2 separate regions of the Homo sapiens genome follow, and region 2 is linked to region 1. Evidence: promoter capture Hi-C in human tissues and cell types (Jung and others, 2019). All regions are on one chromosome and are shown on one strand. Each heading gives the region's core, a stretch centred on a gene start or on the middle of the fragment in contact. The rest is flanking DNA. Distances are from core to core; before and after follow the strand shown.

Evidence for each region. Contacts are between HindIII fragments. The study calls those that stand out against the background at their distance.
Region 2: a fragment that was not itself captured here is called in contact with the fragment with the promoter of FARP2 in region 1 in 1 of the 25 tissues and cell types used here (dorsolateral prefrontal cortex).

Annotation. Positions count from the first base shown.
Region 1 is chr2:241,355,035-241,361,172 of GRCh38, forward strand. FARP2 (FERM, ARH/RhoGEF and pleckstrin domain protein 2) reads left to right here and starts at 1,251. Exons shown (of 27, transcript NM_014808.4): 1 at 1,251-1,354. It overlaps LOC105373973 (a long non-coding RNA gene), which reads right to left. Exons shown (of 3, transcript XR_924066.2): 3 at 5,844-5,966. RefSeq lists a silencer at 1,039-1,588. The HindIII fragment of the contact is 18,573 bases long and covers 1-6,138 here.
Region 2 is chr2:240,596,333-240,602,470 of GRCh38, forward strand. CAPN10 (calpain 10) reads left to right here. Exons shown (of 12, transcript NM_023083.4): 8 at 1-189; 9 at 349-610; 10 at 1,556-1,755; 11 at 2,020-2,065; 12 at 2,319-2,772. The coding sequence ends at 2,348. Among named protein-coding and RNA genes, the nearest start is that of CAPN10, 13 kb to the left of the region's middle. The HindIII fragment of the contact is 8,272 bases long and covers 1-6,138 here.

The sequences.
Region 1 (6,138 bases), core at 1-2,500:
CACAGCACCATAGGAGGAGTCTCTTAAGTGCCCGGGTGTTTCCTGAAGTTAATTATTCCCTCAACAGCCACATGGTGACAGTGGGTGACAGGGCCGGGCTAGGAGAGCACGATGGGTAGGGTCTTGAAGAACACATAGGAGTTCAATGAACTTCTCAAGAGAAGGGAAGTGTGCCACAGCAAGTCAGTCTTCCATTCTCGGGTGGGGGTCCCTAGGCCAGAGGAAGGCCGTCCTGGCCGCCACCACGGAGCAGCCTGTCTCAGCCTTAGCACAGCCTCGCGCGATCCTTCGATGATCCCCTTCGGTCCCTGTAGTCCCACGAGGGATGCAATGCGTTGGAGGAAGGAGGAGGCTGGCAGCCAGGGACTGAGCCAAAGGGTGCAAGGACAGCCGGCAAGGCCCGGGCCAAGACCTATCCCCGCCCAGCGAGCCAGGCCTCGCCCAGCACCTATCCGCGCCCAGCAAGCCTAGGCCTCGCCCAGCACCTATCCGCGCCCAGCAAGCCTAGGCCTCGCCCAGCACCTATCCGCGCCCAGCGAGCCTAGACCTCGCCCAAGACCTAGCCCCGCCCAGCGAGCCGACTCCCCGCCCAGGACCTAGCCCCGCCCAGCGAGCCGACTCCCCGCCCAGGACCTAGCCCCGCCCAGCGAGCCGACTCCCCGCCCAGGACCTAGCCCCGCCCAGCGAGCCGACTCCCCGCCCAGGACCTAGCCCCGCCCAGCGAGCCGACTCCCCGCCCAGGACCTAGCCCCGCCCAGCGAGCCGACTCCCCGCCCAGGACCTAGCCCCGCCCAGCGAGCCGACTCCCCGCCCAGGACCTAGCCCCGCCCAGCGAGCCGACTCCCCGCCCAGGACCTAGCCCCGCCCAGCGAGCCGACTCCCCGCCCAGGACCTAGCCCCGCCCAGCGAGCCGACTCCCCGCCCAGGACCTAGCCCCACCCAACGAGCCGACTCCCCGCCCAAGATCTAGCCCCGCCCAGCGAGCCTTGGCTTCGCCTAGGACATTGCCTCGCTCAGCAAGCCGACGCCCCGCCCAACGAGCCGAGCGCTGCACAGATTTATATCCTACGCAGCTGCCTGCCTGCTCCCGCCCCTTCTCCGTCCGTTCACCAATCAGAACTCGATCTTGCGCTTTCAGGCCGCGGGACGGGAAGGCTCCGCCCTGGCGCCCCGCAGGCCAATCGACTGCGCGTCCGCGTCGCGGGGGCGGGGTCAGGGCGGGGCGCGCTGCGCGGGGGCTGCCGGCGGGCAGTTGGGAGCAGGCGACGCCGACGCGAGTCTGGCGGCTGCTGCTTGCGACTGCGGAGGCCGGGCGAGGCCGGTGAGGACGCGGCGGGCGAGCGAGAGGCCGAGGGTGAGGACGTGAAGCGGCCTGGGCGCGTGGGGCAGGGGTGGGCCTCTCCGGGTGGGCGGCGAAGCCCGAGGCCCGAGGCGAGAGGCCCAGGCGGGGGGGGCGCTGAGGCCGCGGTCCACCAGAGATGGTCCCGCCCGGCCTCTGAAGGCCATCGTGAGGCGGCTGGAGCTCCTAGGCGGGTCCGGGTTAGAGGAGCGTCCGTCTGTAGGGAGCCTGCCGCGTGGGGGCAGGCGGGGCGGTGGGCCGGGGAGTGGCCCGCGTGGACTCCCGGGTTGAGGGGTGCCGCGTGGAGGAGGCCGGTGGGGCTGTAGACCGGGGAGTGTCCCGCGTGGACTCGCGGGTTGAGTTGTGCCCCGTGGAGGCCGGCAGGGCCGTGGGCCGGGGAGTGTCCCATCCCGGAAGGACACCCCAGAGTGGGCCATAGGGACCCGCAGGGTATGGGCCTGGAGGTGCCTGGTGGAGGCATTTTGAGCCGTTTGCCTTTTTAGCATTTCTTTAAATTGTATCTTAAAGGTGGGAATCAAGTGTTAGGTGTTAATATTTTTACTCCACTAAGGGCTAGAAATACTCATAAGCCAGTGGGTAGCCTTTGGGAAACCCATGAAAACTGGGGACCAGAATATGGCCCAGTACATTACACACCCGAATTACGGGCACCTTTTCCGTTTACGCTATGGCAGCAACCCCTGGCCTATCATGTGCCATTAATGGATGTGAAAAGCAGAAATTAGAACAAGGCATCATTGAAGGAAAGATTGTCAATACATAGTGTTAAAAAGGGATGGGCAAATTTAAAACCCAAGGCCAAATCTTTAAAGGGTGGTTTTTCTCTCTGGGTTTTTGTTTTTGTTTTGTTTCCGTGGGATATTTTTGTCTGGGCCACTGTGTAAATGTTTGATAACCCTGAGGTGGCAGTGGGTTAGCGTGTTGGTCTTGTGTAGACTGCCTTATAACAGGCGACACAGATTTTCTCAGTACCAGAGAGATGGGAGAGGACATTTGAGGTAGGGAAGCATGGAGTAACCTTTACTTGTAGGCCAAATATAATTTAAATTTTCTACATCTGCTTGTTGAAAGTTTTGTTTTGTTTTGTTTTTTGAGGTCCTTAAAGGTTTAGGAAGCACTTCATGCTCGTTATTTATTCAGTTTTCCAAAACTCTTCAGAGACATGACCAAGTTGCACAGCCCCGTTTTAAAGTAGAGGAAAGGGAGGTTGAGAGAGGTGGAATGACCAGTTTAGGGTCACACCTAGGGTACTTGCAAATACCATCTGTACTTCTCATGTGCCCTATCCTTGTTGCAGATTCTCATTAGGTGGTTCACTGTTAACAAACTAAATGCTGATGATGCAGTTTCCTGGACTGCAGACGTTTGCTGGCTTATTTACCTATAGGACTATCAGTCGTTAGTAAATTTCCAGGTTCCTTGTATACTAATTCCTTTCCCAAAGAGGAAGTTGATATAAGGTGTATTCATTTCTCTCTGCCTCAGGTTCCTTATTCAAAAAATGAGTTTAAAATTTACTTGGCCAGGCACAGTGGCTGTAATCCCAGCACTTTGGGAGGCCGAGGCAGGCAGATTGCATGAGCTCAGGGGTTCCAGACCAGCCTGCTCAACAGGGCGAAACCCCATCTCTACTAAAAATACAAAAATTAGCTGGGCTGGTGGCGCACGCCTGTAATCATAGCTACTTGAGAGGCTGAGGCACGAGAATCACTTGAACCCAGGAGGTGGAGGTTGCATTGAGCCAAGATTGTGCCACTGCACTTCATCCTGGGCGACAGAGCGAGACTCTGTCTCAAAAAAATAAAAAAATAAATAAAAAAAGCTGTGTTAACAAGATGCCTGGCACAAGGTAAGTGCTTAATAAATGTTAGCCATTATTATTATCAGGTGGACAAATAATCCGAGTAGAAAGTAGAACAAGCTAACCCTGGATATTTACAAAAAACAGTAGAGAAAAAATTAGGCAATAATTAAGCAAATTTATCCTGTTTAGAGGGAATGGTATGAACTGGATTGCCAAAGCAAAGATCAATGCATGGGCAATTCCATGTGAGCTCATTTAAATCCATTTGGCCCAAAGAATTCAGTTGCTTCCTTCCTTTCCAAACACCCCTGCTTCTAGTCACATCAATACCTCTTCTATATTCGGACAGTAACAGATTTTTCTTACTGCTGCTTGTCCTTTCAGTTTTGTTCTTATTTTTCCTTCACCCACTTTCATATCAGCTTGCCAGCTTCCCCTTTACTCAGTGCGTCATGAGCTTCATAAACACAGCATAGTGCTAGATATACAGGCAAAACCCCATTGTAGTGTTGGATACTGAGCTGAGGTAATTCCGGTCATGTTCTCTGAGATCAGAATATAGAGTCCTTTGACCATAGCGTATTTGTCAATGCCACAGGGAGTTGAAAAGTTGAGGATCCTACAAAGCAATATGATAAAGCCCAGTCTTTGGTGATTTTCTGGGGAGCGTTTAGTTGACAGTGATTCTATAAATTGGTCTAATCTTTTTGGAAAGTAGCAGTATGTGGCAAAGATTTTGATTTTGGAATCACACTTTTCAAAACAATCTGATAAACTTTGTTGTGTCAGTAGGGTAGAGTACTCCATAGCAAGTAAACATGCTTCCACAAGCTGAATCCCATCCTCCCATCCAAGGAAAATTTGAACCATTTTGATCCATGGAAATATGCTTTAAAATGTGACTTAACTGAAAAGTTGAAATGGTGTGTACACAGCAATCATAGTGTTGTAAAAATACATGAGGAGGTGAACAGGATCAGGAGGGTAGTTAGAGTGTTGTAAGTGGTTTTATTTTAAGAGTCATGAATTGTTTTCCCCTAAACTGGTGTTTTAGCTTATTGCCATTTTAAAATTCAAAAACAAAAAGGCCCTATAATGTTGTAGGATGCAGTGATGAATCTTGCTTAATCCCATCTTTCCCCTTCCCCGCCCATCCTCCTGATTGCTTCCCAAAATGAAAATGTGGTCATGTCCTATCCCAGCTGCAAAACCTACTTTGGTATGAGATTCCAACCAGTTGGCCCACTAGAGCTCGCGCAGCACAACCCCAGGCCACCTCCCCACCTCCCCTCGGGTGTCTCAGCCCAACTATACTCATCCTTTCCCAGCTGCTCCTGCAGTTTCTATGTAGTCCTCTGCCTGTGCACACACTATGTCCTTTGTCCACCTGGTCTCCTGTTCCCCTGTGAGGAAAGCTGCTCCAGGTCAGGCTAGCCAGCGGTGCTGCCTCTTTCTTTCTGCTCTCTCTGTGACTGCAGTGGGCAGGTAGTACTGGTTACTTTCTCAGTCGTCTCCCTTTCTGAATTAAACTTCTGTATCTTTGTGTGCTCTGTGCACACCATGCAATCACGATGGGGTTGAGGCCGCTTGTGGAGCTGAGTGACTGCTAACAAATCACTAACCTTTCTGAGCCTGAGTTCCTTGATGCCAGCTGCACATGGTTATTGTGAGGATTAAATGAGATGACATAAGCGAAGGGCTTGACATGCATCTCCTTGCAGTGGTGGTCATACAGGACACGGTAGCTGTTGTAATGTGTACCAGTGCATTTTTGAGGCCTTGTCTTGGACCTTGTCCTCTTGATGAAGCCTCCTCCCTGTCTCCCTCCAGCTGCCAACTTCCTCTCTACCACCCTCACTTTACTCACTCCAAGGCACTTAAATCACCATTTAATATATATTAGGTACTCTCTTCTTTGTATTTGTCCACTATATAGGGGGGAATTTTTCTCTCTTAGGAACTCCTGTATCCCTAAGCATTTAGACTTGCCTGAAACAGAATAGAGCTCAATAAATATTTGAATGAATTAATCAGATTTCTTCTGAGGCAGAGGTAGATGCCAGGTTTTATGGAGCTTGAAGGTATACAATTTGGGGGAAGGGGAGAACTCTTTAAGAGAAAGAATGCAAAGTTACAAATAAAAACTAATTTAGAAAGTGAGGCTGGGAGCGGTGGCTCACGCCTGTAATCATAGCACTTTGGGAGGCCGAGGTGGGTGGATCACGAGGTCAAGAGATGGAGAGGCAGGTGGATCACAAGGTCAAGAGATGAAGACCATCCTGGCTAACACAGTGAAACCCCCCGTCTCTACTAAAAATACAAAAAATGAGCCAAGTGTGGTGGCATGTGCCTGTATTCCCAGCTTCTCAGGAGGCTGAGGCAGGAGAATCACTTGAACCCGAGAGGTGGAGGTTGCAGTGAGCCGTGATCACGCCACTGCACTCCAGCCTGGGTGACAGAGCGAGACTCTGTCTCAAAAAAAAAAAAAAAAAGTGAATATTTAGAATGAGAACGTAACAAATTTGAAAAAGCTGATGAATAATGCAAATGGCTAAATTGAGAAAAATAACGTTTGTTAATTATCTAACACACCTGTGTAATATTTCTTCCTTTGGCTGTGTACTTTTTAATCACATTTTCATATGACAGGATATAGAAAGAACTCAGTGATTCCTCTAGCACAGTAGATAAATTTTTATTGTTGATAGGGTACATAAAACTTATGGTTTCACATAGACGTATTTGCTGTTTCTAGTACTGCTACAGGTTGGTGTCCCAGAAAAACAGGTGTTCAGGTAAATCCTGTTTCGCACAATTCCATTCAAAAAAGAAAAAAAAAAAAAACACACATCTTAGGCACACAGAATTGTACTGCTATATTGATTATTTTTCTGGTAACTGATCTATTCGCTTATATTTTAGCACGTCTGATGGTAAATTCCCCACAAACAAGCAACTGGCTCCCTCCATTTCA
Region 2 (6,138 bases), core at 2,143-4,642, 760 kb before region 1:
GGTCAATCTGCCTAGGGTCCTGTCCATGCCCCCCGTGGCTGGCACCGCGTGCCATGCATACGACCGGGAGGTCCACCTGCGTTGTGAGCTCTCACCGGGCTACTACCTGGCTGTCCCCAGCACCTTCCTGAAGGACGCGCCAGGGGAGTTCCTGCTCCGAGTCTTCTCTACCGGGCGAGTCTCCCTTAGGTGAGAGGAACCGCGCAGTGCTGCTGGCTCTCCGAGGCCACAGGCCCTTCCAAGGCAGGATTTGGGCACTTTCCCTCTGTGGTTGGCAGGTGTCCATGTGGGAACTGAGGCCACCGGGAACCTGCTGCCAGCGCCCTCCCATGTTTGTCTTCTTGGCAGCGCCATCAGGGCAGTGGCCAAGAACACCACCCCCGGGGCAGCCCTGCCTGCGGGGGAGTGGGGGACCGTGCAGCTACGGGGTTCTTGGAGAGTCGGCCAGACGGCGGGGGGCAGCAGGAACTTTGCCTCATACCCCACCAACCCCTGCTTCCCCTTCTCGGTCCCCGAGGGCCCTGGCCCCCGCTGCGTCCGCATCACTCTGCATCAGCACTGCCGGCCCAGTGACACCGAGTTCCACCCCATCGGCTTCCATATCTTCCAGGCAAGCTCCTTGCCCCAGGGAGGGAGGGGGAGCAGAAGGGGCCCTCAGAGAATTTGCATCTTGGCCTCCATTGTCCCAACAGAGGGCTCTGGGCTCAGTCACTTGGGCTCCCCCTGCCCTTCGAGGCGCTGCCTAGAACCCGCACAGGGCCCTCTCCCATCTCCAACCTCTCAGAGGCAAGGCCGAAGATGGCCTCTGGAAGGGCCGGGGGCCTGGGAGGTGGGCAGGGCTGATCCAGGCAGGGCAGGTTTCCAGAGGAGGTGGTGAGTGGGGAGGAAGGGAGAAGTTTGGAGAGGACAGGAGGCCGAGGTTGAGACCAGCGGGGGTGGGTCGAGCCCTGGCTTGGGAACGCAGGGGGCTGATGGACTCAGGAGTGAGAGGAGGGGAGGCCCAGGCTGGCTGGCCACAGCAGCCCCTCGGGTGTGAGGAAGTCCACAGTCACTGAGCTCAGCCAGCAGCCCCTTGTCCACTTACCCTGACTCAGAATGACTGTGTCCCAAGGTTCATTCTCTGCAGACATGTGTCCCCTGGAATGCAGGGGCCCTGACGAGGAAGGCACTGCAACCCTCGGTTCACAGTGGGCTGCCTGGGGACCCTTGGACCCTCGCTGTTTGCCCTGGGCCACCGGCTCAGGTCCCCTAGAGCTCTGAGGAAAACACATGCCAGGGCCAGTGGGAGCCCTTGGGGCGGGCTGGGCAGTCACAGGTGTTAAAGCCCCTGATGATGTGACAGGCCTCCAGGCGGGGGCCCCACTGCCGGCACCTTCTGGCAAGGGTGGCCAGGCCTTGGTGAGGAGGCGAGTCCAGTGTCCAGGCCTGGCAGCCCCTCCTCAGAGAAGGGGCTGTATGTGACTCAAGAGGGCCAAGGGCATCCGAGCAGATGGCCCTGGGCTGGGCTCCCTACCCCAAGGCTGGCCCCCTCAGTCTGAGCCTGCGCTTTCCTCAGGTCCCAGAGGGTGGAAGGAGCCAGGACGCACCCCCACTGCTGCTGCAGGAGCCGCTGCTGAGCTGCGTGCCACATCGCTACGCCCAGGAGGTGAGCCGGCTCTGCCTCCTGCCTGCGGGCACCTACAAGGTTGTGCCCTCCACCTACCTGCCGGACACAGAGGGGGCCTTCACAGTGACCATCGCAACCAGGATTGACAGGTGGGGCTCTGGGACTTGGGGGCGGCCAGCTGGAGGCTGGGGTGCTGGAGTCTTAGTGCTCGCCTGTCCCCCCACGTCTCCTGCCTGCCCCTCACCCTCAAGCCCCTATCTGTCCTGGCAGACCAGGGCTGTCCTGCCTACCTGGGGACCCTTCCTTGCTGGTCTGAGCCTGGAAGGAGAGTCTAGTGGGAGGTGGGCCAGGAGCACACAGCCACTTGTGTGACAAGTGCAGTCTGGGAGCGCTGATCTGGTGTCTCTCCACAGGCCATCCATTCACAGCCAGGAGATGCTGGGCCAGTTCCTCCAAGAGGTGTGTATGCAGCCCCGCCAGCCCGGCTCACCTGCCTGGGGCTGCCTGGTGGCCTAGGGTCTACCTGCAACCTCAGGCAGGTGGTTTCTGCCTGGGACGTGAGGTGCCCTTGACTCTTCCTGTGAGAGCCCCGGGCGGTGCCTTGAAGGGCAGGGGGAGCTGAGGCTGCGTCCCATTCCCTGGCTGCACTCGGGGTGGGGTGTGAGAAGGGGCGAGTGCCACCGCTGCCCGGGCCCCCCATCTGTCTTTGCAGGTCTCCATCATGGCAGTGATGAAAACCTAACAGGGTGGCCCCCTGTGCCAGCTCAGGTGACTGGAGCCCGAGGGCCTGACAGGTTCCCAGCAGCTGGGCCGGCCAGCCTTGCACTGTGGGGGCTGGTCCTGAGTCTTGGCCTGCCTCCCAGCCCTGCCAGGAGGCTGCGGCCTAGGGGTCCACGGGAAGCCTCCGTCAGGAGAGACGCAGCCCTGGGGGCCAGCTGGTGCTGCAAGGAAGGGTGGGAAGCTTGCTGGCTTCTGTTGCGCCACTGAGACGGCAGAGACCCCAGGATCCCAGAGCTTCCCAGGATCCCTCCCAGATCCTCTGCTGACTCCATATGGAGGCCTCACACCCAGAGGGTAGGGCAGCAGATCTTCTTTATAACTATTTATTGTTCGAATCACTTTTAGGATGTAACTTTATAAATAAACATGAGCGCTGATGATTTGCAGATCAGTCTTGCTCCAGGTAGTTCCAGGCTGTGCCTGCTCTTGCCAAGCAGGCTGTGGGGAGGGCTGGGTGCCTGCCGAGATGGTGAGGATGAGGATGGCCTCTGGAGGGGCTGGGGGCCTGGGAGGTGGGCAGAGCCAACCCAGGCAGGGCAGGTTTCAGGGGGAGATGGTGAGTGGGGAGGAGGGGAGAAGTTTGGAGGGGCGGGCCCAGGGCATGCCCCAGGCCAGGGGGCTGAGGTTGAGGCTGGCCGGGGCAGGTCAAGCCCTGGTCTTGGGGGACACAGACTGATAGACTGGGGAGTGAGGGGTGGGGAGAGCCAGCGAAGGCACTGCCAAGGCTGTGGCGAAGAAGGACATCTCGGAAACGGGTGTTAGAACCGGAGTTGCGCAGAGGGAGGAACCCCAGGTTCACATGGACTGGGAGCCTTGGATCTGGACGGCTCCTCTGCCTCCAGCCAGGGTTCACCTGCGCAGTGTCCTAGGATTGTTTATTTCCCCAGGCCTCTCTCCCTCGTCCCTCACACCAAATGCTGTGATGAGAGCTGTAGTGTCACTGAACGGTGCAGAAGACAGTTCCAGACATGGGTGGGGAGGGCTGTCACTAAGCCCTTTTGTTTTAGAGACAGGGTCTTGCTCTGTTGCTCAGGCTGGAGTGCAGTGGCATGATCATAGCTCACTGCAGCCTCGACCTTCTGGGCTCAGGTGATCCTCCCTCTTCAGCCTCCCAGGTGGGTAGGAAAACAGGCGCACACTCCATGCCTGGTTAGTTTTTTCAAGTTTTGAATGCTTAGGGGTCTTAGTATGTGGTTGCCTAGGCTGGCCTCAGTGATCCTCCTGCCTTGGTCTCCCAAAGCACTAAGATTGCAGGCATGACCGCCAACCCCAGCTCTAATCCCTTTTAAATTCCATTCGCTTCCTGAGTCCCTTTGTGCCTGGGGAGACCCCGTGTATTGGTCCTTTTTCACATTGCTGTAAACAACTCTGAGACTGGTAATTTATAAAGAAAAGAGGTTTGATTGCCTCAGTTCCGAAGACTGTACAGGAAGCATGGCTGGGGAGGCCTCAGGAAACTTAGAATCATGGCGGAGGGAAAGCAGGCAGTCTGCAGGTGTCTGGAGAAGGAGGAAGAGAGCGAAGGGGAGGTGCTGTGCACTTTTAAATGACCAGATCTTAGGAGAACTCACTATCACCAAAACAGCAAGGGGGATATCCGCTCCCATGATCCAATCATCTCCCACCAGGCTCCTCCAACACTGGGGATTATAATTCGACATGAGATTTGGGCAGGAACACAAATTCAAACCATAGCACCCAGTGAGCCTGATTTGGGCCTTGCTGCCGGATCACGACCATCTCTGGAGTCCTGGTGTCTGTTCCCACTGGGACCTGTGCCGCTGTCCCCCTCTCCACGCCCTGGCCACGCCAAGCCACCCTCCTGACTCACCCACAGGAAGCTGCCCTGGCCCTGGAGCCTGCCCCGTGAGCCCCTCTGCTTGCTGGTTCAATGGCCCTCCAGCAGCAGTGGCTGTGGCAGCTGGGTTCTCGGCATCTTCAGACACGGATTCTTGAGCAGCAGGATGGGGCTCCATCTCCCTGCGTGCAGAGCCTGCCACAGATCTCCCTCATCCACTGGCTTCTGTGCTGACTTCGGATGAAGCCAGTGGTGCCGCCTATTGGGGTACAGCAACTCAGGGCGAACAGTGAGGGGCGGCTCACCAAAGAAATACCCCGCAGGGCAGTGCCCAAGCCAGAGGCTTGAGCTGGGTCGGAGCTGCCCTAGATCCCTGGGTTTGTGGGCGGACAGGTCCTGTGCAGGGCGCCTGATGGTGCAGGTTGAGGTGGGACAGTTGGGGTCAAGGTATTTCTCAGGCACAGTGCCTATGAAGGGAAGACAGTTGCAGGGACTGTGTCCATGTCAGGATAGACTGGTGGGGACCCCGTGAAGAGTTCTGGAGCAAACCCTGCCTGCAGGGCCCCACCTGGGCTGGCCAGGCCCTTATGTTGAGCATCCCTTCCCCCAGGCCCTCAGGAGCCACTGTCCCCGAGGCAGGCCCTGAAGGTGGCGGCCACACCCTCCTGCTGGGCAGCTCTGCCCAAAGGCCACAGCCAGGACCTGCTTCCCGCGTCCCAGGCTACTGCCTGAGAGGAGGCCTCGAAAGCGCAGGGTTCCGTGACTTTAGAGGCCATGGTTGGCACCCATCATCGCCCCAGTGTAGATTGGCTCCACTCGACCTGGCTGCTTTGGCCATTTGGTCTACCAGCTGGAACCATGTTCCTGGGTGTGGAAAACGCTCCCTCCGAAGCCTGCGGAGAGCCCTGAGGCCTTGTGCTTCCTTCTGATGGGAGGTTCCAGATGCAGTTGGAGGGGATGTCTGGCAGGGCTCTAACCCCCAGCCAACCTAAACATTTCTGGTGCAGAAGGCCCCGGCCTGGTGTTGTTTGTCCCTGGCTGCCTCCTGCTCTGACACCATCAGCATCCTGTTGCCAAGGTCATGGATCAGTGCGGTGCTCTTCAGGGTGTCCGGCCAGCTGGGGTCTCTGTCCTGTATTCCGGCAGAGGCCCCAGGAGAAACAGCAAATGCCTTTGTCCATTCCATACAAATTTCATATAAATGTGAGCAGCTTCTGATCTTCCGTGGCGTATTCGTCCAGTTGATGGCCAACCCTGGGTACCTGGACCTCCAGGACCTGCTGCACTGGGCTGCCCCTCGGCTGTGTGTGCACTCGCCACGTGGCCCTCCAGGAATCCCATCCCACGGGGCCACACTGAACCAAATGGAGAGAGCAGGGCCACCACCCTCTCTCCGCATGCCACGGCTGCTCTGGGACCCGGGCAGGAGGGGACAGTCTTGGCCTTCCAGTGTCCCTCTTGGCCTTCCCACGGCCATCTCTACCCCAAGGATGCAGCAGAGATATCGGTCGCTCCCCAGGTGTCAATCCCAGTCACAGGCTCAGAGACCGGGACATGGCCCCGGGTGGGTCTGTAGGCCCTGTGGGCTCATGTGAGCTGGTCCTGGGCAGGACTCCATTATTAACTGCCTGTGATGTGTCCCACTGTCATGGAGCCCTGGTGACTCTTGGGGACCAGCATCAGCTTGGGGCCTGTGTGCTCAGTGGCTCCCAGATGCCTGGATATTCTCTTCCTGGTGCACATAGTCCCCGGGGAGGTCCTTGTCATGCACACTTGCTGATGTGGGGAGTGTCCTTCATCTTGCAGGCCTGGCCACCTCTTCAGTCAGCAGATACCTGGGCTGAAAACCGACTCGGGCAGTGTGGGCCCAACTGGGGCTCTATCGGAGTGACCACCCTCAGCCCTCCTGGACCCCTCTGCCGGCTCCACCTGAGCGCTGCCCTCGCTGGCAGCC